Regions from separate parts of the Homo sapiens genome. Here regions 2, 3, 4 and 5 are each linked to region 1. The links are contacts of gene promoters, found by promoter capture Hi-C in blood cells and fetal thymus (Javierre and others, 2016). All regions are on one chromosome and are shown on one strand. Each heading gives the region's core, a stretch centred on a gene start or on the middle of the fragment in contact. The rest is flanking DNA. Distances are from core to core; before and after follow the strand shown. Region 1 holds the start of ARHGAP24 (Rho GTPase activating protein 24). Region 2 has its middle 110 kb from the start of ARHGAP24. Region 3 overlaps ARHGAP24 (Rho GTPase activating protein 24). Region 4 has its middle 82 kb from the start of ARHGAP24. Region 5 overlaps ARHGAP24 (Rho GTPase activating protein 24).

Region 1 (2,796 bases), core at 185-2,684:
TCTTACTTAGTAGACATAGCAACACATATTGTTTTATTTATGTATTTATGTATAAGCAAAGCCTTAACAACTTTTATATTCCAAATACTCAGCACGATTTATTTATTTCCTTTTTAGAAAGAGATGAAACAATGATGCCGTGGAAGGTTAAAAAAAGAGTAACATAAAATGTGCTGGAAACAGAAATTACTTGGAGAAATTACTTGTTTAATTCAAATGAATTAAACGAGATATAGTCTACAAAGAAGTCTGGGCTCCCTATTACTGGTTGATGCTGAAAATCTATCTAAGGAATTCAGAGTAACATTGTCTCCCTTCTATTTGGGTACGTATAAAATAAATGTAGTCTTAAGTATTTTCTAAAAACGAGACCATATTACATGTTTATCATTAAATGTTATTTTTAAAAACATTTGGACAAAATCTTTTGAGTGGCTTCAAATTCACCAAAGATTCCCTAACGTTTTGTGTTTACAAATATATGTATATATTTTATAATATATATTTCTAATATGTAATATATTTATAAATATTTTAAAACATATTTTATACATATAAAATATATATTTTTGCAAATATATATGCTTATTATTAAAACCTATCTTTGTGCGCCTGTTACATAGGGAACTCCTATAAGATACTAGAGGAAACAAACAAGGGGAAGGGGAGGATGGATACCAAGAGAGGAAATTGAATTGTACAAAGGGTTTTTATTAATTCCATCTATTTTTAAAGCCAGAAAGACATACTACCAGCTTGCTGTCTCCCGGCACAAACATGCGCGCGCGCGCACACACACACACAAACACAGACAGGCTACATCAGCACGGGATTCCTGCGATCCCTCCCCGCCCCCCGCAGCCCCCTCCCCGCCCCCCGCAGCCCCCTCCCCGCCCCCCGCAGCCCCCTCCCCGCCCCCCGCAGCCCCCTCCCCGCCCCCCGCAGCCCCCTCCCCTGGCGCAGGCAGCCGCGTCCGTCCTTCCCGCGGTAGCTCCGCGCACTTCCTCGCGACCGCATCACCTACCTTGCTGGGAGCTCAAGACAGATGCCGGACAGGGCTGCTGCTCCGAAGGAAAAGGCTCCCAGGACCAGCAGTAAGAAAACGCAAAGAAAAAAAGGTGGTAGTGAGGCTCCTTTACTTTCCACAACAAGGGGAAGTGTTGAACTCTATGCACTGGGCTGCTCCGCAGCGCGGGTTTCGGAGGAAATAGGCGGCCGAGAGAGCTGCGCCTGCGATGGGAAGTTGGGGGGATTCCCCCAGCCACCCAGCCACCCCCGCCAGGCTCCTCTCTGGTCCCCGCCGCAGCCTTGACAGCTCCCCTGGTCTCCGAGCCCCTCCAGAGCCCTGCTGGTTTCCACCCGGAGCTGGGCTGTGTTGCCACATGCACTTGAGAAATCCTAGCAGTTGCGCAAAGAGTCCCAGAAGTTAGAAAGGGTGATTGTGTGTGAATGTGTAAATATACAGTACAAGAGGCTGGAACAACTGAGTGGGGCCAACCCTCAGACACAGCTCGAGGTTTCAGATTTCATTTGGCAACTGGTAGCTTCACAGGACTCGAGCCGCACTACAGGGGAGGCCGGCAGGAGCCCCGCCCTCCCAAAGCCTGGGTTATCTGAGAGCTGGAGCTACACCGCCTGGCGCCACTGACAGAATGCGCCCTGCCTGGTTCCTCCGCATCTGGCATCGCTCGTTCCTTTCAAGTGCATCATAGATACTTGTTGGCCACAGATCTGGGGCTGTGGGCGCGAGAAGGTTGGTGAATACATGTCTCCTGCCCTCAAGGAGCTCTGCATTTCATTGGCCAAACCCCATACACCGGTTTTACTTGCTTCTACCAACTCTGTCTCGCTAACATTTTATTTCTCCAATTAGAATTACCTGGGCCATTAAAGCAATATTCCTGGAAATGCACATTTAGATGGATGCTCTCTAACTAGAGCCTTAGAGAAATTCAAAGTATAATTACTTTCTTACGGTGGTGTAAGAACTCTCGGAGTTACACAATATGGGACAAAAGGACAAACTAGTAAACATTGTTTTGATGCAGGCCGTCTCTTCCCACCATCACCACAATGTCTGTTTCAAATTGTGATCTTACAGTTCTGGTTACCTGGCATGCTGAGTCAAATTATTTCAAAAAGCTTTGTAAAGATCTCTGTTTTAGAAACCCACTTACAGTGGATCAGTCATGCAATCCTAGCACTTTGGAAGGCTGAGGCAGGAGGATCGCTTGAGCCCAGGGGTTTCAGACCAAAATTGGCAACATAATGAGACTCCTGTCTCTATAAAAAAAAAATTAAAAAAATAAAAAAAAAGTTGGGCGTGGCGGCGTATGTCTGTAGTCCCAGCTACTCAGGAGGCTGAAGCGGGAAAATCCCTTGAGCCCAGGAGGTCAAGGCTGCAGTGAGCTATAATTGTGCCAGCGCACTCCAGCCTAGGTGACGGAGTGACACCCCCGTCTCGAACAATTACTACTGCTACTACTAATAAAAGAAACTCTCTTTTAGAAATCATCACCAGATATCCTTAAGACACAGAATGGGGGTGTCCTCACTAGGGATCTCCAGTGAGAGAGGGATATGGAAGAAGAGCAAATGTTTAGTTTTAGAAACACCAAAAATAAAAGGCTGAGTGGACACTGATATGTTTTTCCTTTTTGTCCTCTTTCTCCAAGTTCTTGGAGAAACGAATCTACCCCATCCCATGCTGAGGTCCTACTATAAACTTGATTTTCTGGTGGGAGAATTCTCAGCCCTTTAATGAATCAAATTAATTTGTGTGGGGAAAAAATTGCG
Region 2 (2,796 bases), core at 84-2,583, 110 kb after region 1:
TTCACAATGAGGCCCTAATTCTGTTCAATTCTGTGATGGCTGAGAGAGGTGAGGAAGCTGCAGAAGAAAAGTTGAAAGTTAGAAAGGTTGGTTTATGAGGTTTAAAGAAACAAGTTATCTCCAAACATAAAAGTGCAAGATGAAGCAACAAATGCTCATGGATAAGCTGCGTCTGAGTTATCCAAAAGATACAGTGCAATCATTGATGAAGGTAGCTACACTACACAACAGATTTTCAATGTAGGTGAAACAGCCTTCCATTGGAAGATGCCATCTGGGACTACCGTAGCTACAGAGGAGAAGTCTGCGTCTGGTTTCAAAGGACTGGATAATGCAGCTGGTGACTTCAAGTTGAAGCCAATGCTCATTTACCATTCTGAAAATTCTAGAACCCTTAAGAATTATGCTAAATGTACTCTGCCGATGCTCTAGAAATGCAACAATAAATCTGGATGACAGCATGTCTGTTTACAATATGATTTTCTGAATATTTTAAGCCCAGTGTTGAGATCTACTGCTCAGAAGAAAGAATCCTTTCAAAATATGACTGCTCATGGAAAATGCACCCTGTATCCCACAATCTGTGATGGAAAGGTACAAGAATATTGATGCTATTTTCATGCCTGCTAACACAATATCTAATCTGTAGCCCATGGATCAAGGAGTAATTTTGACTTTCAAGTCTTATTATTTAAGAAACACATTTTTAAAGTTATAGATGCCATAGATAGTGATTCCTCTCATGAATCTAGCCAAAGTAAATTGAAAACCTTCTAAAAAATATTCACCATTTGAGATGCCATTAAACATTCATGAATCATGGGAGGAGGTCAAAATATCAGCATTAACAGGAAATTGGAAGGAATCAATTCCAACTCTAATGGATAACTTTGAGGGTTTAAAGATTCAGTGTAGAAAGTCACCACAGATATGGTCAAAATGGCAAGAAAACTAGAATTGGAAATAAAGCCTGAAGATGTGGCAAATTTCTACAAGCTCATAAAGCTTGAATGGATGAGAAGTTGCTTCTTATGGATGAGCAAAGAGTGGTTTCTTGAGATGGAATCTACTGCTGGTAAAGATGCTACAAACATTGGTGAAATGACAACAAAGGATTTAGAATATTACATAAGCATGGTTGATAAATGAAGTAGCCACAAGGGTTTGAGAAGATTGACTAATTTTGAAAGAAGTTTCAATGTGAATAAAGCAGCAACTCATGCCTCAGTGAAATCTTTTGTGTAAGAGTCAAATCAGTGTTGCAAATATTATTGTTATCTTATTGTAAGAAATTGCCACAGCCACTCCAACCTTCCACCACCACCCTGCTCAGTCAGCAGCCATCAACATTGCAGGAAGCTCCTCCATCAGTAAAAAGATTATGACTCACTGAAGGCTCAGATGATCATTAGCATTTTTATCAATGAAGTATTTTTAAATTAAGGTATGAACATTATTTAGACATAATGCTATTGCACACTTACTAGACTACAGCATAATGTAAACATTGCTTTTATGTGCACCAAGAAACCAAAAAATTTATTTGACTGGTTTTATTGTAATTCACTTTATTGCAGTGGTCTAGAACTGAACCTGAATATCTTCAAGATATGCCTGTACTTTAAAAAAATCTTCTAATACTGCAGTTAAACAAAGCTTATTTGAAGCGAGAAAATTAAGCTTGCTTTTTTTTAAATCAGTTTGGGTTAAATTTGCCTATAGCATTCATCAAACGTTAGTGGTCAATAAAAAAATCTAATAATTATATATTAAGAAAGCCATTTGCCCAAAATCAAGGGGAAGAAGAATTCTGGGTCATAAGGCACTGTGCTCTAGAAGCCAATAGAAGTGAATCAAGGTAAAATGAAGGTAGCTGGACTCTAAAAGCCACTCTTCAACAAAATACTATAGAGAGAAAATGGTGTCTGAATTTTTAAAATAAAAGAAGCAGCAGGAGCTTTAACAGCAGAAGCATTTTTCTTTTCCAGGTTTTAATGATTTTGCTGAAAGTTAGTAAAAATTTTCAATAAAGTTTCATGACATTTTAAATAAATTTTAGAAATTAAATTAAGAAAAATTGTATAAAATTTACAGGTAATACTCTTTTTTATCCAATACCAAGTAATAAAATTTCATTTAAAAGAAAATGTGACGGAACTGAAATGTAAGAGGATGGAAGAAGTCTTTAATGAATAACAAGATGTTTATTCTGGGGAGAATATTCTCCATGTGGTCATCAAAACCATGGAATGATGATGAATATTATATAATGGAAGAACTACACATATGCCTATTGAGTAACTTGTTCCTACATTACAAAAGTCTTGTTTCTTCAAGTTTACTGTTTTTCTCTTATTAGGTTAGGTCCTTCACAAAACCTCTGAATAAAGTCTATATTTAGTGTAATGTTTATTAATAGGTAATGAATGAAGTTAAGTAGAGGCAAAACAATTGAAACAACATGCAAATAATACACAACATTTTTATGTTTTGTTTTATTGTAGCTGAGAAATGTAATGGCCACCAATCACAAATCTGCTTCAGTGGAAACTGAGGCATAAAAGAGGTTAAGTAAAACAGACATAATAGTAATGATAGCAGCTACTTCATAGAGTCTTTAGAAGGTTTACATGAAATAAAATATATAATGCACTTAGTGACTAGCAAATACGATAGTCCATAGTAAACAAAGCATAATTATCATTCTTTTTGCTACATTCGTTGAGATCTAGCCACTGTGCTTCATAAACCTCCAGCTCTCTAAAAGTTCCACCTGATATCGGTCATTAAAGAACA
Region 3 (2,796 bases), core at 186-2,685, 93 kb before region 1:
CAGTCATGACATGATGAGGAATATTTTAAGGTTATGTGTGAAGGAGTATACGGCCATACTACCTATACATAAGCAAGAAAATGAGTTCTTCATTGGAAAAATATTAACCAACAGGTGAGATGCTAAAACTGCCCCAGTAAGAACAGAGAAGGTGGACATTCTGGGGGAGCCAGGGACAAGTGGTTAAAAGAGATTTTCCTGTCCCAAAATCTTCTTCCAAATTCTTGCTAATGTTTATTTCTAAACATTTATTCAGGAATTGGGAAGCCCTCTCTAACTCTTGTGTCTTTGATGAGGTTATAAAGATATTGATTATCTGATAAAACGTAGATTATTCCTGTCCAGGCATATATTATCTGATAAAACGTAGATTATTCCTGTCCAGGCATATAAACAAAGTCCCTGTTTTATCATTTCTGATCAATTCTGGAAGACAAGCTGTCTTTCTGTCTGGTCTTTATATTCATCACTATTTTTTAATCAATTTGCATGTATACAATTCTACTTATAAATTCCATGAAGTTTCTATTGTCAGCCCTTGGTCATTTTTGTTTCTTCCTTGAAGGCTCAGGGTCAAATCTTCCATAATTGCACTTCAAGTTCTCTCAATTTAGTCCTGCCATTCCTGTTGCAGGGATGAAGCAGAACTTTCGTTCTAATTACTTCTTATTTTAATAACTTCAACCATCTTTGCAGAAGATTTGCCTCCTTCACTGGCATATATTTCAATCTATCACTATCCTTGCCTTAATCTTCACCTCTTAAACTACTTTTAAACTTCAAGGAGGTCACTTGACTATTTTCTGTCTCATTCAATACGCACTTCTTTCCTTTCTTAAAAAACAGGCCCCTGTCTCTACAATACGTCTGGACACTTCCTTTGCTCTATGGGGCATTCCATGACCATAACCACTTATTGCAGAAAACACTCTCCCCTCAGGTGTGTGCCCGTGTGTCTGCAGACTGGACCATGCCTGATGCCTCCAATTTGCTATGCCCTGCAGAGCAGGAACTTTCATCTCCTTTCTTTCGCAGTACCCGACCTACTATGATGAGCCAAGAACTCCACTCTAACTGAACAATTAATGCTGTAAGGTAATTTAGATAATAAGTATGCTTAGCTAGACCACCCTAAATAATCTTTTTCATCTCCTGGTATTTAAACTGCTTAAATCTACACAACTTGCTGTTTCATCACTGCCTATTTATTCTTTGACCAAACACCTTAATTTATAAAGTTAAATGGGACCTTAAAACAAACATTCCACCACACACACACGCCCCCCTCCCCCCCGCAACAAACATGCACACACAAATCTAGAATTCATTGCACAACAAATTACTTAGGGCCCTTAGGTAATTTTTTCTTTCCTCTCAAATTCATGCTTTCTATGAAGTTTGAAAAATTCCCTCTAAAATGCTTCAAGGTTATTAGCAACCTACCATTGATAATATAAAAAATACAAGTAGATATTTCCCCTTTTGTGTACATTAATGCCTTAGTGAGAAATGTGTGTACACTAGAACATGGTTTCTGATTCCTTTTGCATATGTTGTTTATAAGTCTGACCGAAGTCAATGACAAATTGCCCACTGAACTGACTATAATGCCTATATTTTTATGATTTCAGAATGCATCGGAAAGTGCTTTACTAATGCTAATTGAAGACTAATTGTAACAATTCATTAAAACAGAAATGAAAACAGACTTATATGCCTAAGGGAAAAAATGCCACAACTATTGTTAGATGAGGAAAATTAAGTTTTACTAAAACAACCATAATTTTTATAGAGAAGTCTTAATATTTCTGGAGAAATAAAATGATTAAAATTCTACACTTCATCTTTAAAATGAGGATGCTGGGCTGGATTATTTCCAACTATGGTCTCTTCTAGCACTCTGAAATCTATCATCTCTGTAATTCCATAAGTGTAGGGACATCAGATACCCTTACTACTCAGTACGATGTCTGGCATGCAGTGAAGCTCAATCAATGTTTGATGAAGTAATCAATTTTGCAATAGGTTTCATACTAAGTGTCTAAAAGTGAACACGATCTCCCTTTGAAACATGATCTTCCCCCAAACCTGATCTTAGTAAATGACACCATGATACACCCAGTTGCAAAGAAAAATATACAGAAAACTGATCATTTGATTCATAACTCTTCCTCACCCCGGATATCAAATCAATCAGTAAATTCAGAATACCTCTAAAAAATAGTTCAAATCCATCCTTTTGGCTTCATCTCTATTGCCACCTTATGGTGCAGTCCACTATTATCTTTTGAGGAGATGATTCTAATAGCCTTCCAAGGAGTCTCACTGCTTCCATTTTTAGCCATAAACACAAACACACAGGTACATGCTCACACATATTTCATTCTCTAAAATGCAGCCAAAGCGAGCTTTTAAAGATTCAAATCAGATAAGGATTCTCAACATCTGAAAATGTTGTTGGCTTCCCACTGTACTTATTTCAAAATCCAGAGTCTTACCATGGCCTATAAGGCTCTGAATCATCTGGCACCTCTTTACCTCTCTAACCTAATCTCATGCCACCTTCTCCCCATCCCTCCCCATACCATACACATACATACTTAACCACTCTTGTCTCCTTTCAGTTCTGGAAACAGCCAAGCTCCTTTATCCCTTGCTGATTTCTGCCTAGAAAACTCTGTCTTGGGCTCTTTTCATGCTCAACTCCTTTTTATCTAAGTTTTGGCTTAAAATCTGTCTCCTCCAAAAACCTTCACTAATCACCCTGTGAATCAGGTAACCTCTTTCTATTCTCTA
Region 4 (2,796 bases), core at 132-2,631, 82 kb after region 1:
GCCATGTGATGACACAGCAAGAAGCCCCTATCCAGTTGCTGATCCCTCAACCTTGGACTTCCCAGACTCCAGAACCATGAGCCAATAAATTTCTGTTTATTATAAATTACCCGATCTGTGGTATTCTGTTATAGCAGCTGAAAACAGACTAAGACAGTTTCCATATAAGGGGACAAAGAGACCAGAGCTCCTTCTCTCCCTACCATGTGAAGGTATAGCAAGGAGACATCAAACTGCAAACCAAGAAGTGGGCCCTCACTAGGAACTGAATCTACTGGTACTGTGATCTTGGACTTCCCGGCCTTTAGAACTGTGATAAATTTCTGTTGTTTAAGCCACCTGGTTTATGATATTTTGTTATAGCAACCCGAGACAACTTAGGGCATCAATAAAACTGTGGCATGATAACTTGTCAGGTTGCCAGTAGAATAAAATCTCAAACTCTTGACAATTGTTGACATACACTTCTACTTTGTTTAATAATACGGACTTCTTAGATAATGACTTATTTGGGAGCCATGCTAATGAGAGGCACTGTCTAGTGTAAAAGACACGGTTGGCCATTTCCAACTTTTTACCAGTTCTCACTCTGAAATAAATTCAAAATTTTTTGAAAGACACAAAATATTTTACTTAAATGGTGTAAAAGCCCATACAAAATATTCATACTGTTTCATCACTGAATAATAGCATGTCAGCTTTACACATTGTAACATATCTGGCAGGCTGAGGAAAAGCCCTATCCCTGAGACATATACGTATATATACACACGCATATACACATACAAACACATGTATCACACAAACACATATGCACACGCACACACATAGTCCATAAGACTAGATTATGTTCTGGAACCAGTTATCTAAGAATACAAAGTATGTTTAAAAAGCAAAGTAGCCTCAACTTTGCTTTTTAAAAAAAGCAAAGCTGTGAGAAAGCCTAGCTATGAGAAGGCCTAATAGGAAACACAAGCTGTAAATGTCATATTTATGCAAAGAATGGTCTCACTGCATCCAGAACACTTAATTCTTACAGTGCAACCATCCTTTTATTCTTCTGACTCACATCACCTTTTTAGAAGCACTTGCAATAAAAACCAATGCTTTGTACTCTATAGAAATGCTTACAAGCATAGGACTTTCTGGGATTTGAACTGAAATCAGATTCAGCAAATCTTCAGCCTGATATTGGGGTAGTGGGTGTGTGGGTGTGGTGAGGAATGATAGTTTAGCTTCAGCTTTCCAGGTGAGCCCACGCCCTCACAGTCATCCTTGCATGAAGGGAATTAGTCAAGAGATAATATTTAGAGTGTTTCAGTTTCATGCAAATATCCAGTTCCCCTAAAACCTAAAGCGATAATGAAAATTCTGTAACTTACACTTCACTGATTTGCATAAGCCTTGCCCATTCCCTATATTCTTATAAAATTGTCATAAATGTTTCCATCTTTAAAATAACCAATTAATAACTTTATACGTGGCAGGGCCTGTGGTAGCATGAAGGAACTAGATACCTGTGGTAGAAGGGAGGGAGATTTAAAAGATATGAATGTACAAATGAAGAAAAAAATTATTGTACTGAAAACTTAACCTTTATCTTTGAAATAAAAATGCTATATTCCTCCCCATTGTGCCTAGGTAGGTCCTAGCCAAGAAGGCAGCATAATGCAATGAAAATAATAAAGACTTTGGATTTGAAGTTAAGCAAAGCAGGCTTCTAATACTAGCTTCTCTCTCATTAGCTGTGTGACCTTAAGAAAGATAACCTGTTTGGGCTCTAGTTACCTGATCTATGCAAAACTCAAAACAAAAACCTGTTATGAAAGATTATTGACAACATAAAATGTTACAATTCATTAGCACCTGTAACATAGCATTCTGTGTCAGCCAATGTCATTATTATTATTAATTAGTATTATTATCATTAACCATTAAACTACATTATTTAATCCCATCACAGGGTGTACTCACACACACACTCACAGTTGCTCAGACTGGACCATTTAGACACAGCAATTAACCAAACATGCCCATTTCTGAAGGTGTAGGAGGAAACTAGCATACCCAGAGAAAACAGATATCTATAAATAGAAATCTATCTATAAATAGATATAAATAGATATCTATAAATAGATATAAATAGATATCTATCTATAAATAGATATGTTTTCCCAAATTAAATCAGATTTAAGTGATATGTCTGACTATATAAACAGATCTCTTACACTTGGATGTTGATTCTCATACAGTCAGAGCAAAGCCATGGTGAAGAAAATTCCTCTGTGCATATATAAATATTGGCGAGAAGGAGAGGAATGTGTATGTATTTTACATGTGTTTAATATACTTATTATTTTTACAACACAAACAATATAAATTAAAGTGTGACTCTTGAAGGTTGAAAGTCTGCAAAAGACAGAGGGGATGCAGAAACATTGTGGGTTAAAAATGACAGCTCAGAGGACACTATGAGTCAGAACTAGAAACCAGAAGTCCTTCATTTCTACTGTCTTGATAAAAACGTCTAAATCACCTATTTTTTCTGTGCTAAGTTTCCTCCTTAAGTATAGGTTAAGCATTCATCCAATTTTTTAAAACATACACATTAGATCCAAACCATGTACAATTCCCAAGTGGGGAGGTCACCTCCAGTCCCAGCACTCCTGGAAAGTTCTGACACATGTTCACCCATATGGATCCATTTGTCAGCCTACTTTGTAAGTGGTCCAGGCCTGAAAAAAAGGGGTTGCAACTTCTCTCTTGCCACAAATAACCTTGAGAGACTCTACAGGT
Region 5 (2,796 bases), core at 163-2,662, 74 kb before region 1:
AAATTTGTTCGGCCATTGTGAAAAGCAGTTTGGTGATTTCTCAAAGAACTCAAATCAGAATTACTACTCAATACAGCAATCCCATTATTGAGTACATACCCAAAGGAATATAAATCATTTTACCATAAAGACACATGCATATTTATGTTCATCACTGTACTATTCACAATAGCAAAGATGTGGAATCAGCCTAAGTGCTAATCAATGTTAGATTGGATAAAGAAAATGTGGTACATATGTACCATGGAATACTATGTAGCCATAAAAAAGGAGATCATGCCCTTTGCAACAACATAGAGCTGGAGACCATTATGCTAAGAGAACTGACACAGGAACAGAAAACCAAATACTGCATGTTCTCACTTATATGTGGGAGCTAAACATTGAGTACACATTGGCACAAAGAAGGGAGCGAGAGATGCCAGGGCCTACTTGAGGGTAGAGGGAGGGAGCAGCATAAGGATCAAAAAACTACCTGTGGAGCACTGTGCTTATTACCTGGGGTAGTGAAATAATCTGTACACGAAACTCCTGAAACATGCAATTTACCCATATAACACACCTGCACATTTACACATGAACCTGAAATAAAAGTTAAAAAGAAAAACAGTGTATAGGCAAGCCAGAGACTGTCAGAAAATATTTGCAAAGCATATATCTGTTAAAAAAACTTATATCCATAATATACAAATGACTCCTACAACTCAATCTAATTAAGAAAATGAGAAAAGATTTAAATAGGCACTTCACAGAGGAACAAACAGAAATACCCAATAATCTCATGAAACAGTCCTAGCATCATTAGATATCAGAGAATTGCACATTATAAACACAATCCGGTATCATTACATGCCCATTTGAATGGCTAAAATTTAAAAAGACTGACAATACCAAATGTTGATGAGGATATGAAATAACTAGAATGTTCATATATTGCTGGTGAAAGTGTAAATGGTGCAACCACTTTAACAAAATGTTTGGCAATTTCTTATAAAATTAAATATACCTGTATCTATGACTTAGTGATTCCAATTCAGACGTTCAACCAAGAGAAATGGAATCCTTATGTTCTCAAGATTTACACAAAAATGTTCATTGTAGTTTTATTTATATTAGCCAGAAACTGGAAGTAACCCAAATGCTACTCATCAAGAGGGAACAGATAAACAAAGAGCATGGCTTGGTTTCTTTTAGCAACCAAAAGAAACAAACTGTAGATATACATATAACAACATGTATAAATCCAGCAGTCATTATAATGAGTGAAAGAAGCCAGATACAGAAGAGTCACTGCACGATTCCATAAATAGAAGTTCTAGATGAGGCAAAACTAGCCTATAGTGATAGAAATCAGGAAACTAGCTACTCCTGAGGGGTATATACTGACGGGAAAGGGGCACAAGGGACCTTTCTAAGGTGATGGAAATGTCTTACATCTTGATGAGACAGGAGAAACATGGGTCTAGATGTTTGTCTAATTTCCTGAACTATGCACTTGATATCTGTGCACAAATTATTTTGCTCTAGTAAATTTTATTCCAAAAAGCTGTTAAAAAGTTGAATTCTAGTTAGTAGATTTGCTTTTCTGGCTGTGGTGTAGGTTAGCAATTCTGAAATTGCTTTCTTGTATTCCAAGTCGAGCAAACAGACACATATATTGAATATAACAAATGTGAAGTTAGGTTTCTTACTTTTGGAAAAGAGTTACAAATGAGAAAATTAGGACACCAGAATGCATCCTGTAGTTTGAGACTGGAATCAGAGGTATCAGTATGAACTCATGGTTTTTCATCGATAGGCACATAGATATAGAAATAAAAATCAACATATATTCACTAATGCTTCTGGCTGACAGGGCCTAGAAGTATTAACATATCAGTAGCAACGAGTACACCTAGTGTCCAGATCTTGACTTCTAAATGCCATCCACTTCTCAATGGAAGCAAAGCTGTGTGGATGAAAGGCTGATTCCAGGGTGTGGACAAGGAAAATACAAAATGAGCCTAGAATAACATGTGCCAGAAAGTAAGGAAATCCTCAAGAATGATGGGGAGGTATCAAAAGGCACAAAAACTAATATGAAGTGGCTTTCAATGGATAAATCTGGGAAAATTTGAGCATCTGAATAAATAATAATAGTATTTAAATATTTACGGCTATAATGGATTATAGACATAGAATAAAACAAGAATACATGAATCCCATTGATATCATAAATAAACAAATAAATAAATGAGAGACATGGGAAAGCTCTTCCTTTCAGCAGAATGTCAATTATTCAATTTGAAAGGAATAATGGAATTACAAATTAACAATGGATGCAAAAACTAGTAGGTAGAAGTTTGACAGAAAAAAGATATTTAAATAGTGTCAAAGTTTCTTCTTACAAATTAATTATTATTTAGCAAGGGTGAAACACTCGTTTTACTGTGGAGAAACCTGGCAGACACAGTGATCAAAGTTTACATTGCCAGCCAGGCACAGTGGCTCAAGCCTGTAAACCCAGCACTTCGGGAGGCTGAGGTGGGCGGATTGCTTGAGCTCAGGTGTTTGAGACCAGCCTGGGGCAACATAATGAAAACCCATCTCCACAAAATTACAAAATTTAGCTGGGCATGGTGGTGCGTGACTGTAGTCTCAGCTACTCAAGAGGCTGAGGTGGGAAAATCATCTGATCCTGGGAGGTCGAGACTACAGTGACCTGTGATCGCACCACTACTCTCCAGTCCAGGTGACAGAGAGAGATTCTGTCTGAAAAAAAAAAATTACATTGCCAGTATTGAATACACTGACATC

The links. The method cuts DNA at HindIII sites, captures the fragments that hold promoters and counts their contacts. A CHiCAGO score of 5 or more calls a contact.
Region 2: a contact is called between a fragment that was not itself captured here and the fragment with the promoter of ARHGAP24 in region 1, in 2 of 17 cell types (total B cells and naive B cells). The highest score is 11.8, in total B cells.
Region 3: a contact is called between a fragment that was not itself captured here and the fragment with the promoter of ARHGAP24 in region 1, in 2 of 17 cell types (total B cells and naive B cells). The highest score is 13.5, in total B cells.
Region 4: a fragment that was not itself captured here is called in contact with the fragment with the promoter of ARHGAP24 in region 1 in 2 of 17 cell types (total B cells and naive B cells); the score reaches 11.0 in total B cells.
Region 5: a contact is called between a fragment that was not itself captured here and the fragment with the promoter of ARHGAP24 in region 1, in 1 of 17 cell types (total B cells). The highest score is 8.8, in total B cells.

The regions. Positions count from the first base shown.
Region 1 is chr4:85,473,788-85,476,583 of GRCh38, reverse strand. It overlaps ARHGAP24 (Rho GTPase activating protein 24), which reads right to left and starts at 1,434. Exons shown (of 10, transcript NM_001025616.3): 1 at 1,025-1,434. The HindIII fragment of the contact is 5,990 bases long and covers 1-2,144 here.
Region 2 is chr4:85,359,343-85,362,138 of GRCh38, reverse strand. No RefSeq gene overlaps it. Among named protein-coding and RNA genes, the nearest start is that of ARHGAP24, 110 kb to the left of the region's middle. The HindIII fragment of the contact is 651 bases long and covers 1,008-1,658 here.
Region 3 is chr4:85,566,809-85,569,604 of GRCh38, reverse strand. All of the region lies in intron 1 of ARHGAP24 (Rho GTPase activating protein 24), which reads right to left. Among named protein-coding and RNA genes, the nearest start is that of ARHGAP24, 93 kb to the right of the region's middle. The HindIII fragment of the contact is 2,912 bases long and covers 1-2,796 here.
Region 4 is chr4:85,391,888-85,394,683 of GRCh38, reverse strand. No RefSeq gene overlaps it. Among named protein-coding and RNA genes, the nearest start is that of ARHGAP24, 82 kb to the left of the region's middle. The HindIII fragment of the contact is 3,863 bases long and covers 1-2,796 here.
Region 5 is chr4:85,547,412-85,550,207 of GRCh38, reverse strand. All of the region lies in intron 1 of ARHGAP24 (Rho GTPase activating protein 24), which reads right to left. Among named protein-coding and RNA genes, the nearest start is that of ARHGAP24, 74 kb to the right of the region's middle. The HindIII fragment of the contact is 8,939 bases long and covers 1-2,796 here.